Linked DNA regions of Homo sapiens: region 1 is linked to region 2. Evidence: promoter capture Hi-C in human tissues and cell types (Jung and others, 2019). All regions are on one chromosome and are shown on one strand. The core of a region is centred on a gene start or on the middle of the fragment in contact, and the rest is flanking DNA. Distances in the headings are between cores, read along the strand shown.

Region 1 (3,258 bases), core at 131-2,630, 34 kb before region 2:
ACTTGGCTCTATTGTTACAAACAAAATGAACAGGAGGGGTGGGAGTGAAGAGAAGAGCAACTTCCTTGGCCTTTCTTATTTTACCAATTAGGTAAATCTACTGGATATTGTAGTGAAACTGTTTTCTCATGTCTGGAAGGGTAAGGTGAGCGAGGCTGATGAAAAGGAGGTAGAAGGAACATAATCACCACTATGGCCATTCTGTTATCTGGATTCCTAACAAAATTCCTGAAAATGGAGGCCTCAGGAAAGGTTCCAGAGATTGGGGTGTTCCTGGAAGGCATGTGGATGGCCGGCAGGGCTGTGACCTACCCAGGCCCCTAGTCCCAGCAGCTGACCTGGCTTGATTCACTGCATAGTGCCTCTCTGAGCTCTGAAGGAACTGTACACGGCTCACATGAGCAAATAAGTGCCTTCTCCTTTTTTCTTCTTCCACTCTCACTTTAGGGGAGCATTTGCACCCTAAAGTATGGGGGCCATCTCAGTATATTTCATGTCAAATACATAAAGTGCTTACAGGGAGCAGCAGGACTGGCCCCCTTAGAATACAGTGTCCCCCTTCCCCTTAGATTAGTGCCTGAGTCCTCAATCTCTTCTCCACTCCACGGCCGACCTCCAGACCCTCCTACACCTCACAGGCCATCCTAAAAACCCTCTGACCTGGCCTGCCTTTCTCTTATTTCCCATGCCATTCATATTCCCTCTTCTTTCTCTCTCTGTCATACGTGCACACACACACACACACCAACAACAACCCTCCACCTCTCCATTCTCCATGCTGCATGCTAGTCCACTTATCTTTCCAAAAGCAGCCATGATTTCATCTCTCCCCTGTTTCCTCACTGCTCATTGCTCATCTGATAGAGCTTAGCAAGTCACTCCTCCACAATAACCTGTCTTCCTGGTTTCATAAGCTGCTCATCTCATTCCAACTCATCCTCTCTCGCAGCCATAAGAAAGCCCAGTACTCCAAGGCCCTTCATACCTTCTGGTGCCCTCGCACTTGCTTGCTTCCCAGAATAACCCATCCCATAAGCAGCCTCCTTCATGTTTCAAATCAGCCATTTCACAGACCACATCCTCCATAAAAACTGTGCCGAATCCCCAGACAAAACTACACATCCCTTCTTCCACGTCTGTGCTTATTTCAAGTAGAGCACTTGTCTCACGTCCTATTCTACTCAGTACCTTCAGCCCCAGGACACTGCCAAGCCCATTACGGGCGTTTACACTTTGCTGAATCATTTCATTAATAAAATAATTTATGTGTAATTATTTCTCCTCAACCCCTCAAAAATCTCCTCCAGCACTGGTACCTTTAATGTAGTTGAAATTCAGCAAGCACAACTTTAATCGTTTTATTCAAGTTGGTGTTTTCTAGATTTGCTAGTCCCAAGAATGACCAGAGTATTTGTTAAAAATATAGATTCTTGGGCCCTGCAGTAGGCAGCCCCTGAATGAGACTTTACAAGGAGGCTGTGGATATTTGCATTTGTAGCAAACAATATAGGTAATTCTTATACTCACTTGACTTAGGGGACACTTTTGTCCCCTACTAAAATCTGAATACCTTTGGAAAGAAAGCAACATAGCAAACTTTAAAACTATTTATATTTCAATGTGAATTATTTGGTAAAATCTTTTTGCTAAAAGATTTTAACAGAGGGGCCCAGGGAAAAGGAAGCGAACACAGGATATATCCAGTTTTGATTTTTGCAAAAAGGTTTTTGGATATGAGGCCAGTTTATATCCAACCCCTTTGTAATAAAAATACTTACCTAGTAAAATGGTTTCAACAGGCAGACATCCCACTAACTCTATTACATCACTTGTCATTTTTAATAAGTAGCATCATCAATTCTTCTAGTGGTTAAATATTGATAATACAAAATATAGATTTAATTATGAAATTTCATTACTATATAAAAGTAAAGTAAAGGGGAATAAACTTTTTACACACGGGCCATTTTAAGAAAAATTATAATATTTGTAGTCCATTAAAAGAATACATATTTTTAATCAGGAAATATAATATTGTAACTGTGCTTATGTGCATTTCTTTTTTCCTTATAATGAAGGAATTTCTTCTCTGTTTTGTTTTGTTTTGTTTTTTTTTTTCAGATGGAGTCTCACTCTGTCACCCAGACTGGAATGCAGTGGCATAATCTCGGCTCACTGCAACCTCTGCCTCCCAGGTTCAAGAGAGTCTCCTGCCTCAGCCTCCTGAGTAGCTGGGATTACAGGCATGTGCCACGATGCCCAGTTAATTTTTTGTATTTTTAGTAGCTACGGGGTTTCGCCACGTTGGCCAGGCTGGTCTCGAACTCCTGGACCTCAGGTGATCCGCTTGCCTCGACCTCCCAAAGTGCGGGATTACAGGCATAAGCCACCATGCCCAGCCAAGAATTTCTTATTTGGGTTAAAATTTCAAAAACTACTTAAGCGCAGGCATGGTATAGTCTAACCATAACGTTAGATTTTATAAAGGTTGTGACTAGGAGTATTCAAGCCTGATTTCTTTCCTTGACTGGCTTTCATTGCAAAATAACCACTTCATTACGAAAAACATTTTGTTTCATTATGCCTAGCAATGCATCCTTAATGATACATTGCAAAAGGGGCACACAGAAATGTGTTACACGGTGAAATATTCTTTAGTCAAATTCCTTTGGAGTACATTTATTTTTACCATCATTTCTTTTCTTGCAGCAGTCTAGCTGGTGTTTAAATGATTATCTCTAAGGTAGCTTGCCCCAGTCACACTGTGCTCTAAGTTGTTCCTCTCTCCTTCCATTTGAGCAGGGAAACACTAGATGGGAGAAAGCGCGGAAAGGGCTAGAAGGGACGTGGTAGAACACACCACGACGATATTGAGCTCACTCAGAATCAAACTTCCACATCTCCATTTGGACGCCCACCACACCCCATCAATAAGACCTGTCCATATCACAACACACTTGAAACCCACTCCCCTCCCATCTTCTCCATCTCAGTAAAGGGCACCAGGTGCTGAAGTTTAAAACCAAGAAGTCGCCCTTGATTCCTCTGTTTCTCAATCTTCAAATCAAATTCATCAGCAAGCCCTTTCCACGGACATGCAAAACCTATCCCCAATCTCATGTCGCTTTGACTCCCTGCCTCAGTCTCCAGGGCAGGTGCCCCGCAGCTCATAGGACTGCCCCCAGGGTTACCAGATAAAATACAGGACACCCTAGTACAATGGAATTTCACATATGTATAAATACTTCCCCAATTCAG
Region 2 (3,119 bases), core at 306-2,805:
TGTTGGCTGTACAGAGAAAACATCCCTGTAGCCCACCAGTTTATTGGCTAGTTCTTTAGGGAAAGTCAGACTACTGGGCCCTGCTTTGGGACAGCAAATCCCTCATGTATTTATTAAGCAGATTTACTAATAAGGTCAGATGGCTAAATCTGACATGGTAGTCTTAGCTTCAACATCACCAAGCTGCAAAGAACCAAGAAGCCTCATTTATATGAATAGAATTCACTGCAATAAATAACAGTAACATCGTTTATGAAATGCTTGGTACGTACTAGGGGCTTTGTGTGTACTAAACAGCCCCTGAGGTATATATGCTCTCTCAAAGATGAAGAAACTCAAACAGGGAATTTCAATAATCGGTCCCCTAAATATACAGCCAGAAAAGTGCAAGGCCTAGATTCTGAGCTGGCGAAGAAGGGCGAATTTGGGATAATTAACACACTCGGATATACAAAAACACAACCGCTAATCCACATGACAGGCAGGCTGTTGGAAAGTTACGAATGCACCGCAAGCAAAAGATGCCACCATGGGCCCAGAGAATGCAGGAAAGTGGGAACTGACTCTTACGCCCTTCCCCCAAGGCGAAGGAAAGGCAACCCCTGAATTCTTAAAATAACTCTCGCTTCCTCTCAGCCGGCAAAAGCACCGGACTGCTCCTCGGCAGGCCGAGAGGCGCCGCAGCGGGAGGGTGAGTTCCAGCCTCCGCTGCAGCCCCTCGACGTCACGCTCCTGCCCGGGGCCACCAGGGAGGGCAACTGTCCGCGGGCCTCGAGAGGGCGCCGGCCGAGCCCCATCTCCCACTGCCAGGAGACCCAGGGTCCAGAGGGGAGATCAGATTGCACAATCCGAGGAGTCCTCTCCAGTATCCCCGCCGCGCGCCCGCTCCGCAAGGGCAGCGGCTTCCCCACTGTGTGCGAGAAGCGGCCGGAGCAGGGACAGCAGCCGGCCCTCGGGCCCTCACCGGGAAGGACACGCGGTGAGCCCGCCCCCGCGCCCGCACCTCCCACCGCTCCCCTGCGCGGCTCCGCGGCGGACACCTGCGGAGCCTCAGTCCCCGCGCCCTGGCTCCCCCGGGCCCGGTCACCCGTCGGCTGAAGACATCTAAGAGCCTTCGCCGCCGGAGCCCAGAGGCGGTGCGGCCAGGAAGCCGCCGCGGGCCGCGCCGATGCCCCCGGCCCCGAGTCTACCCTGCGCCCGGGACTCCGGCTGGTGGCACAGCCGCGGCCCCTGCACCCACTGCCCGCGTGCCCGCGCCCACCCCTGGGCTCGCGCAGAGGACTCACCCGCTCGCGGTGAAAGTTTCGGGGCGGCGGAGCTCCACGGTGACTTGAGTTCAGAGTGGGGGGCGCGACGGGGCGGCCCAGCAGGACCTGCGTATGGGGAGGCTGCTGGCCGGGAACGCTGGACGCGCGGCGAGGGGCTGCTGGCGCGGGGCCGGGGGTGGCGCGGCCGCCCCGCTTGCCGCGGGCTGGAGGCTGCAGCGCGTCTGGCCCGGAGGCGCCACGGCCGGGGAGCGAGCGGCAGCGCGGCCCGGCGCGGCGGGAGAGGAACTGGCTGTCTCTGGGCTCGGCCGAGAGGTCCCAGCTACTTCCTGGTGCTCGGATTTGCATATTGAGCCCGGAGGGCGGGGAAGTGACCGTTTGGTCCCTGCCCAAGGTTTGGGTGTTTGGTGTGGCCGTCGCGCAGGGCTTTGAAGGCACAGAAACCTGGCGACTCAGTCTGCAGCTCCGGGGAGTGGAGCAGCCCGGGCCAGCCTTCTCCTGTAGGGACGGACGGAAGGATCTCCAGAGGAGCCTGGGCTTCGCAGGCACATCGACTACACCTCTCGCGTCTCCTTTCCTTTCCTTCCGACCCATCCCCAAGGTATTATTAGGAAGGGGGTGCTCCCAGGAGCGGAGGAGGTGCGCTCTGATCCCTTCCAACATTAGGGGTTCTCTAGAGAAAGGATGCGATATGCCGAGGTGATGCTCGGGGTCTCGCTGAGTTCTTAATAATCATTACAAAGTAAGTTCCTTAAGGGTGTACAGGAGGCTGTTCAGGGCATTGATGGGGGAGGGGATGACGTAGAGTCAAATGGCCCGGCAAGTTCTCCGTTTCTCAAAGCCTCAGTTTCCTCCCAGGACAATGGATGTGAGGATGCCTATCTCGTGTACCTTTCTGTACAGGGCCCGCACTGCCCGCATGCAGGAATGCTGGCGTTATTTCATTCCTACTACAGCTGCGTCCCAGCATGTAGGGCAGTGCTTGCACGTAGCAGCTGGTGCCTAACCAGTGTTTGCTGAAAGAATGTGTGACCGCGTGCTCAAGCTCATGTTCAACTCAATAAATGCCACTTACAAATCCAAGATGTAAGATTAGGCTCGGGCACCGTGGATACCCACTTCTTCTAAGCCAGATTCTGTTCACTGGGATCTCAGCATTGCATTAATAGCAAACATTTACAGAGGGCCTGATGGGCCAGACACTGCCCAAAGCACTTCCTTTCTCTCATTAACAATGTTCTGAAGAGGCTGACCCCAGCTACAGAGCAATAAGTCAAAGCAGCTGCCTTGTGACACAATCTGATACAGCAGTTATTTGTTACTAGGAAAAGAGTACTAAAGTTTGCATACTAATTCCTTAAAAGAAGAAAGGTGGTTTATACCTGTGATGTTCACTGGTATGTAGTTGTTAGTTTACTGCTGAAGAGAAGGGGTGGGTTGCCCATGGAAATACCCATGGGAAGGTGTGTGATTGAAACCTATCAAGAATCCTATGGAGAAAAATAGAAAAATGAAAAAAGAACAAAACAAAACAAAATGAAACAAAAAACAATGAATCCTACAGAATAATTCACTACCTGAGGGCCTATTGCCTAGACTTTTCTTAAGAATGACCTCTCAAATATATTAACCCTACATTAAAGTTTCTGCTGCTACTGATGAATCCTTGAGATCCTGACTAAACGTGTGTGGCAAATAAGAATAGGATTCAAAAACGTTTGGTATTGGTTAATCTATCAGGAATGTCTGTCAGTGTTTTTGGTAAAATGTCTCTCAGGGTAAGGAACAAAGCATCATCAGGCTTACCTGAGCTTGCAACCAGATCCCCAACTCCCTAACTCCTCACAAAATTGT

Evidence for each region. Contacts are between HindIII fragments. The study calls those that stand out against the background at their distance.
Region 1: a fragment that was not itself captured here is called in contact with the fragment with the promoter of LYN in region 2 in 1 of the 25 tissues and cell types used here (H1 embryonic stem cells).

Annotation. Positions count from the first base shown.
Region 1 is chr8:55,911,587-55,914,844 of GRCh38, reverse strand. The region is part of intron 1 of LYN (LYN proto-oncogene, Src family tyrosine kinase); the gene reads right to left. Among named protein-coding and RNA genes, the nearest start is that of SNORA1B, 10 kb to the right of the region's middle. RefSeq lists enhancers at 1-273, 274-774. The HindIII fragment of the contact is 8,639 bases long and covers 1-3,258 here.
Region 2 is chr8:55,878,271-55,881,389 of GRCh38, reverse strand. It overlaps LYN (LYN proto-oncogene, Src family tyrosine kinase), which reads right to left and starts at 1,555. Exons shown (of 13, transcript NM_002350.4): 1 at 1,287-1,555. RefSeq lists silencers at 772-951, 982-1,271, 1,352-1,521, 1,542-1,601 and enhancers at 1,752-1,811, 2,372-2,461. The HindIII fragment of the contact is 15,672 bases long and covers 1-3,119 here.